Linked DNA regions of Homo sapiens: region 1 is linked to region 2. The links are contacts of gene promoters, found by promoter capture Hi-C in human tissues and cell types (Jung and others, 2019). All regions are on one chromosome and are shown on one strand. Each heading gives the region's core, a stretch centred on a gene start or on the middle of the fragment in contact. The rest is flanking DNA. Distances are from core to core; before and after follow the strand shown.

Evidence for each region. The method cuts DNA at HindIII sites, captures the fragments that hold promoters and counts their contacts. A contact is called where the count stands out against the background at its distance.
Region 1: a fragment that was not itself captured here is called in contact with the fragment with the promoter of DPPA4 in region 2 in 1 of the 25 tissues and cell types used here (dorsolateral prefrontal cortex).

The regions. Positions count from the first base shown.
Region 1 is chr3:111,307,687-111,312,085 of GRCh38, reverse strand. No RefSeq gene overlaps it. Among named protein-coding and RNA genes, the nearest start is that of CD96, 230 kb to the left of the region's middle. The HindIII fragment of the contact is 4,087 bases long and covers 81-4,167 here.
Region 2 is chr3:109,335,146-109,339,275 of GRCh38, reverse strand. DPPA4 (developmental pluripotency associated 4) reads left to right here and starts at 1,730. Exons shown (of 7, transcript NM_018189.4): 1 at 1,730-1,812. The coding sequence starts at 1,759. RefSeq lists enhancers at 1-406, 1,625-2,232, 2,233-2,841, 2,842-3,450. The HindIII fragment of the contact is 13,883 bases long and covers 1-4,130 here.

The sequences.
Region 1 (4,399 bases), core at 875-3,374, 2.0 Mb before region 2:
GAGGCCTAGGCAATGATAGAGTCACAAGAAAAGAGGAAACTGGGTTTCTGAGTGCCTGTGTACACAGGAGCCCTACTATACCCCTGCTGCCAATTGTACTTTACATGAAGAAGAAACAAACTTCTAGTGTGTAACCACAGATATTTTGGGGTTATCAGTTCCAGTAGTTAACTGTCTCTAATACAGGAATCAAGACAGGAAGTGGAATGCTGACTTAGTGAAAGCCCAAGATGTGTGCTATTGTTTCAGTGGTCAGATAGCAGACAGTGATGAAATAAAAAGAGCGAGCTACAGTTAGAGAGTCTTGCTATTCTCTGGCCCAGTATTTCATGTAAGTGTCGTCTGCAATAACTGAAGGAAAGGAGCACATGCCTCTGAGCCTAAAGCTGTAAGAAAAGTGGTTGGAAAGAAGTAGAGTGAAAGCGTGTTGTGGCTTACAATTAAATGCCTTCAGTACAGGAGCTCAGACAAGAAATAAGTGTTTTTCATGAATAGATTAAAAGGAATAAAGTCTAAAAATAAAAAGTCTTACAAGTTTGGAAATCCAGCTGCTTCTGGACTCCAAATTCTAAGAGATAAGACTGGAAAAGGTCCCAAACTGCAAAGACCCACCAAAACTCTTGCTTAAACACACCAGAGTGGTGTTGCAGCAAAGAGCAGAATAAGGGGATCACCTTGGCATTCAAACCTATTGTTTCAGTGAGCCTCAAGTTAGCTGCCAGGAAGTTGAGAGAGGGTTGCATAGAGATGAAAAAGAAAATGAAATCAGGCTTGAGAATTATGTCTAGGAAAGAACTTGAGCATGTTTGCTCTTGCATGGTACTGATTAGATAAGGCAAATAGATCAGAAGCCTATTCAGTCTTTCAGGAAGTTATATTGCTGAATTAATAATATTTTTGCTCTAACAAGGCATCTCTGTTTGTTTATGGCTTAAAACAATTCTTGGGTCCCCAAACTTGTATGAGCAGGAAGCAGGCTGTGAAAGCTGTAGAGCTCCCAAGAAGATTGCACTCCCTGTGCCCCCTTCAGATATGGCCATGGAGGAAAACAGAGAAGGATAAACTTCCCAGTGGGTAGAGCAGGAGTCACAGAGAATGAGAGAGAGGGGAGTTTCTTCCTGAACACAGATTCTAGGGCTGATCAAGTAACTTCTCCACTCAGAGAGGGCCCTTTAAAATACCTGGCCAGGAGGATTTCAGAAATATACAGCAGACCTGTGGTAGCTCTGTGTCTCTTATTCTGCCCTTTCCCATATTGCTTGAGCATTGTTGGGGGAGGAGGGTGGAGTGGAGGAGTGAAGAGTGGGAAACTGATAACTTATTATTTCACTTCATAAGTCAGCAGAGTCTCCACATCTAAGCCTGGTAAGGACATACATTTCCCATAAATGCTGGACTTTGAGTGGGATGTAGGAACTGGCTGAGACTTAGAGTCATCTGCCTTCAGGAGAAGAAGGATGGATCTTATACATGGGAGAAAGAGTAAAATTCATATTTAGTGACCAGGAGAATAAACTGTGGCATGAATTATCTAGTCATACAAGCTATTTTCTTCCAGTGCATTCATTTAAACTATTGTTTCATTCTCCTTTGTAGGTAGCCAAGTTCCGGCAATTAGACATATGGGCAGAATTATGTCCACCTCCAAGCCTAGCCCATAAGTAGTCCAAATGTGCCATACTCACTCTTTTCCCTCATTTTCCAGCTGCAGCCTGGGAAATCAATAGAGGACTCCAGGACTGGCAAGGAGGAGGAAGCCTCAGTGCCTAAATGCAGAAGCTCCATCCCTACCCTTCCTCTAACACTGATTGGACTCAATGTGAGCACAATAAAATATTGTGCAAAGCCACTGAAATCTGGGAGTTATTTCTTCCAGCAGCAAGCCTTCCCTTACTAATATAGGTGGGCAGAGTTCCAACCACCTATACTTAGATCATCTCAAATAGAAGAAGAACCCTGGCAGCTCATTAGCTCCCAGAGAGATTGACTTCTAAAATAATTATGTATTATTCATTTTCTTCCTGTGTATCAAACCCTGAATCACAGGACATGAAGTATCCTATCATGAAATAAAGGTCTGATTTTAAACCTAGGCTCTTCCACAGATTAGCTGCTTGTTTTTTGGGTAGGCCATTTAAGTATTCTAACTAGTTACCTTATAGAGTTTTTGTGGGAGGAAATGAGGAGATGTGAAAGTCCTTAGTGCAATTCCTGGCGTATAGTAGGTATTCAATAAGAGTTGGTCTCCTTTCTTTTTTCTATAATAAGAAGTAATGGTTATTGAGCTCTTACTATGTGCTAAGTGTGCTAAGTGCTTTATGTGTGTGGGTGTGTATGTACACACACATATATATAATATTTAATCTCATAACAACCTTATAATGTTGGCACAACTATTATCCAAATTCTACTGATGTTGGATGTAGGGTAAAGGGTGATTGGGATTGCCCAAAGGCACACCATCACATCATCAGTAAAGGAAGTGAAATACAGGAATCTGGCTCCAGAGTCCACCTTCCCACTGTCTGTCCTACAGTGCTTCCCACAGTCATTTGGCCTAGGAAGGAGAGAGAGCATTCCTCCCAGGAGCTGTAAATGCACAAAGGTCTTACACCATGGAATCCAGTCCTGTGTCTTCTACATGGATTCCTCTGATCCACTAGGTTTTTATCTTATTCTTTTTCTATTTTCTCCATTTAACACATTATCTACACAGCTCCTCATTGGCAGGACTATATATAAAAAGCAAGCGTAGTTGTTTGTCTGGTCTTGTCTGATGTGTGGATTGAAGAGAAAGTCAAACAGAAGCAATTAACTGAGGTATTTGTTTTCTCCTCTATGACACTTGCTGAAGTGCCCACCCTGTCCCACTTAAAAAACACATACTCAGGAGTAGCGGTAATGATTTGCGTGCCTCCTTTTGAGTGAACTGAGAACAGTGATTCAGGAATCAAAGTGTAAACCATTTACTCAAAATTAAGCATTGAAACTTTAAAGTTATTATAACTGGTCACCCTTTGGCAAATCTCACAGTGGAGTGTACCACCTGGAGTGTGGTGTACCCACAGCAGAAAAGGATTCATCCTCAAAGTGAAAGTTTGAGCATTCAGAGAGACAGACTCTACCTGATCAATGTCATGGATCCTACACATGTAATTGATAGGTTTCCATGTGTCAGCCTGTTTAGGAGAAATGCATCCCCCCCTGTCTTGCTGTTTTTATTCTATCAGTAGTGGTGTCTTATTGTGGTAACATTGTCAACATCAAGAGAAGGCTTATTAACTCCTAACCTTTTGGGTTGTTTTTGTTTTTGTTTTTGTTTTGTTTTGTTTTGCTTTTTTGAGATGGAATCTTGCTCTGTCGCCCAGGCTGCAAGCTCTGCCTCCTGGTTTCACGCCTTTCTCCTGCCTCAGCCTCCCTAGTAGCTGGGACTACAGGTGCCCGCCACCACGCCTGGCTAATTTTTTTTTTTTTTTTTGTATTTCTAGTAGAGACAGGGTTTCACCGTGTTAGCCAGGATGGTCTCGATCTCTTGACCTTGTGATCCTCCCGCCTTGGCTTCCCAAAGTGCTAGGATTACAGGTGTGAGCCACCATGCCCAGCCTATTTTATTTTCTATTTTGGTTTTCTTATCCTTTGCTAATCCAAAATCTTCTTCCAGCTAAACATTTTTTCTTAGTATAAAACTCAGTAGAAGCAAAGGCAAAGCTTAGTGGATGTAACAGATTCGATTAACTTGATAGTTCAAACTTTAGAATGGATGATAGAAAACTTCCCTCTGCTCTCTCTCTCTTTCTCTCTCATGCTTTACATCCATCCTGCCCCTAGAATGCTTTTCAATTTATAAGTGTTTCTGTTAATATTTTCAAATAATTTAAAGTATTCTTCAGCCTCTGCCTTACGTAAGTTCTTACTCAAGTTTTTTAAAAGTGATTGTAACACATGGTGATTGTTGAATTTGTTTGTGCATTTTGTAGATGAGTACTTAATTTATAGTGTTTACCAATGCCTCCTAAAAGTGAATCAAAGACCAGTAGTGTGTTCTGTCAACTCCTGGAGAGGTACATGTTACTCTTTTGGAAGAAACATATCCTATGTTTTTTAAAGGAAAGTGGGAGAAAAACCTTAACTGGACAGAGGTGAAGTCACCTTGTTTATAAATGGAATCGGTGTCAGTGTTTCTCAATTATTGTTAGCACAGGAAGGTACTTTGTTAAATACTGTGTGGTTTTTGGGAAAGCCACTCAAGACATAGGCCATAGTTTATTCTTGCCACTGGTAAGTTGACAGTAAGATATTAGAGTGATAATCAGCAGGACAACCTTTAAAAGAAAACTCTTGACTTAAGAGTTACCAAAATAATGTGTATTTGAGAGAAGACACTAAATAAAAACTTAGC
Region 2 (4,130 bases), core at 481-2,980:
AAGCCTTACATTTAAAAATGAATCAATCTGGCCTGGATTTGGTGTCTGTGTTTTTATGTTTTATTTTTATTTTATGTTTTATTTTGAGATGGAGTCTCACACTGTCACCCAGGCTGGAGTGCAATGGCACGATCTTGACTCACTGCAACCTCTGCCTCTCCAGCTCAAGCAATTCTCCTGCCTCAACCTCCTTGGTAGCTGGGATTACAGGCACGCACCATGCCCGGCTAATTTTTGCATTTTTAGTAGAGAAGGGGTTCTGCCATTGTTGGCCAGGCTGGTCTCAAAACTCCTGAACTCAAGTGACCTGCCCACCTCAGCCCCCCAAAGTGCTGAGATTACAGGCGTGAGCCACCATGCCCAGCCCAGAACTCCAGTTATTCTGAATGTTACGTTCAATTACACTGACAAAAGAAAGATGATTCAGTTATACACTTTATACACAAACCTTAATTAGAAAGTCCTACTGGTGGTTACCAAAGGCTGTGGTAAAGAATTGTTAAATCAAAGCCCTAATATCTCCCAGATGACCTCAACTCACCTGGTTTCCTCTTTGCCGCCTTGGGGGTTGCCCAGTCCACAACCTGCACTTCCTTCTCTATTCCTGGGCTCCGTTTACTTACTTTTTCTGTCCGTGGATTTCTAGCCTGTGAGCAGATTACTAACACCATTTGGATAAAGACAGTCTCTTATTTATCATTTTAGGACAAGCAATGAGATGTAGGAAAAAAAAACAACAAAGTAAACCAAAGAACAAAAGAGACTTTGGACCCTGACAAGGGAGGGTTTCAGTCGCACAGCCACTGCTTCCTTCACTTCACATCTCTTGACAATCTGACAGGGAGCACTGATCTGAGGAAAGATTTTTCAAATTATTTTAAGGAGAAAAACTTGAACTTCTTTGGGAGTCAGTAGGTTAGGGGTTCACTTACTGTGCTATTGAAAAAGTTACCAATAAAAATTTATACCAACTTTAGTCATATATAAAATGGGGAACAATAATGACTGAATTTAAAACTCACAATTTGAGATATAAAAAAATACTCGGGCGGGGAGTGGTGGCTCACGCCTGTAATCCCAACACTTTGGGAGGACAAGGCTGGAGAATTACTTGAGGGCAGGAGTTCGAGACCAGCCAGGTCAAAATAGCCAGACCCCCCCACTTGCCCTCTACAAAATAAATAACAAATACTCTATAGACTTTAAAAGCTACTATTATTAGTTCGTTGGCAGATGAAAAGATGCTCGGTATTAGTACAGAGAAACCTGGAGTTTTAGTTGGTTGAGTAACTTACTTAGGAAATGGAATGTATTTGGTACGAGAAAATAGCTTTCTTCAAGCCGCCAGTCTGGTCTCTGAAGTCTACTGTTGCCACAAGTTCCATTATTAAATCCCTTCACACATCCTGCTCAAGTCTCTGGCCACTGTTTTTTTGTTTTTTGTTTTTTGTTTTTTTTCCCCGTAGAATCGTTCTGAAGGAGTGCTCAATCTCCCAATGTCTCCGGAACCATACTTTGGATAATTACATTTAAAGTGAACAGAAAAGGGCCAGGAATAGTATTAGTAATTCAACCCAGACAAAAGTCACCCCATGAATAAGAAAGAATGCAATTTTAGCATTTACAAATTGTGGGGGAGGGAACAGAAGGGGAGAAGAAAAGAAGAGGTGAGGTGGAGAGAAAAAGGGTCTTCGGGCGGCAGGAAGTGGGAGGAGACTTTGCAAATAGCAATCTTGGGGCAGGGGCCATTTTGGAAGCATGTTGCGAGGCTCCGCTTCTTCTACAAGTATGGAGAAGGCAAAAGGCAAGGAGGTCAGTACAGTTTTAGTGGATTTGTTTTCTGTCTGTCTTTGTGTTTCTGTCTTCCCTGGGCACTCCTGATTTTTCCTTTAAGGAGAAAAGAATGTGCCTTCGAATTTTCTCCTCTTGACTTTTTTTTTTTTTATTTTAAGAGTAAGGCCCAAGAATATGATTGCAGCCTGGTATATTGGAGTGAGCAGACAAGTAAGAAATGAGGTTTTCTAGGTTTAGTTGAGGAGGTTGAGTGTGTCAAAAGATGGGGAAAAAAAAAAAAGAGGCCGGGCGCGGTGGCTCACGCCTGTAATCCCAGCACTTTGGGCAGCCGAGGCGGGCGGATCACCTGAGGTCGGGAGTTCGAGACCAGCCTGACCAAAATGGAGAAACCCCGTCTCTACTAAAAGTACAAAATTAGCCAGGTGTGGTGGCGCACACCTGTAATCCCAGCTACTCGGGAGGCTGAGGCAGGAGAATCGCTTGAACCCGGGAGTCGGGGGTTGCGGTGAGCCGAGATCGCCCCATTGCACCCCCAGCTTGGGCAACCAGAGCGAAACTCCACCTCAAAAGAAAAAGTTAAAAAATTAGGTTTTCAGGTTTGTGTTTTGGAACAGGGTTTCACTTTTGTCTCCCTGGCTGGAGTGCAGTGGCACCATCACTATTCACTGTAACCGCCCAGGCTCAAACGATCCTCCCACCTCGGCTTACCAAAGTGCTACTGGGACTGCAGGCGCCCGCCGCTGCTCCCGGCCCGGGTTTTCTGTTTTGAAGAGGTGCTTAGTCCTGTCAGAAAGAACTAACTGAATATGGGGGCTAGAGGGAAATGGTAACAGGAGAAAAGGGTGTTAAAGGAAAGATTTTAGGAAGAGGTAATTGAGCTGAGTTTGGAAAAGAATGAAACCCCTTAATTTCCTTTAGACGGACACAGATCCTAAACCGAGGGTGCTGAGAATGAATTCGTCCCCTTTTCCCAGCGTCCTTAGGACCTAGGAGTAATCAGAAGCCAGACATTGGGAACAATGCAGACAGAAACTGAAGGAAGAGAGGATTTAAGACGTTGCACAGGCACTGAACGGCCATATCCGAGCGCTCTCAGGTCCTCTTGACTTGAACTGGGTCATTTTTAACTGTCTCGGTTTTAAGTCTTTTGTGAGGTCCAAAGTGAGTACTTTTTGTAAGGTTTATGCAAATATAAATTTCAAATCAAAATGTAGAACTGCTATAGAGATGTAAAAATGCCATACAAATGTTAATTTGTCCAGTAATCCACCCTGAAAGTGAAGAAAAGGATTTAGATTTAGGAGAAATTTTATTATATTAATTTTTTTTTTTTAATGAGTTTGACTCTGTCGCCCAGAGTGGTGTGCAGTAGCCGATCTCGGCTCACTGCAGCCTCTGCTTCCCGGGTTCAAGCGATTCTCCTGACTCAGCCTCTCGATTAGCTGGGATTGCAGGCACGCACCACCACGCCCAGGTAGTTTTTGTATTTTTGGTAGTGACTGAGTTTCGATATGTTAGCCAGGCTGGTCTCGAACTCCTGACCTCAATCGGTCAGCCCACCTCGGCCTCCCAAAGTGCCGGGATTACAGGCGTGAGCCACGGAGCCTAGCCTTTATATTTAAATTTTAATTTATATCTAATGTACCCCTAATCTGTGTCTTTATGTTACCTCTGATTCTCAGCTTCTGTGTCTGAGAAGTAATTGTTGCCAGATTGCTATGAGAATTAAATGAATGAAAAAAGGAAGGCCAAGGCCAGGCACAGTGGCACACGCCTGTAATCCCAGCACTTTGGGAGGCTGAGGTGGGCGGATCACTTGAGGCCAGGAGTTTGAGACCAGCCTGGCCAACATGGTGAAACCCCCATCTCTACTAAAAATAGAAAAATTCAGCCGGGTGTGGTGGCAGGCGCCTGTAATTCCAGCTAGTGGGGAGGCTGAGGCAGAGAATTGCTTAAACCGGGGAGATGGAAGTTGCAGTGAGCCGAGATTGGACCACTGCACTACAGCCGGGGTGACAGAGCGAGACTCCTCTCAGAGAAAAAGAAAATAGGGAACCCTTGGGCGCAGTGGCTCGCGCCTTTAATCCCAACTCTTTGGGGAGCCAAGGCGGGAAGATTGCTTGAGGCTAGAAGATTGAGATCAGTGGGGGGAGACATAGGGAGACCTCACCTCTACAAAAAATTATCCTGTAGTCCCACCTGCTCAGGAGGCTGAGGCAAAAGATCACTTGAACCCGGGAGGTAGAGCTTGGAGTGAGCTATGGTCCTGTCACTGCACTCCAGCCTGTGTGACAGGGCAAGACCTTTTCTTTAATAAATAAATATTTTTTAAAAAA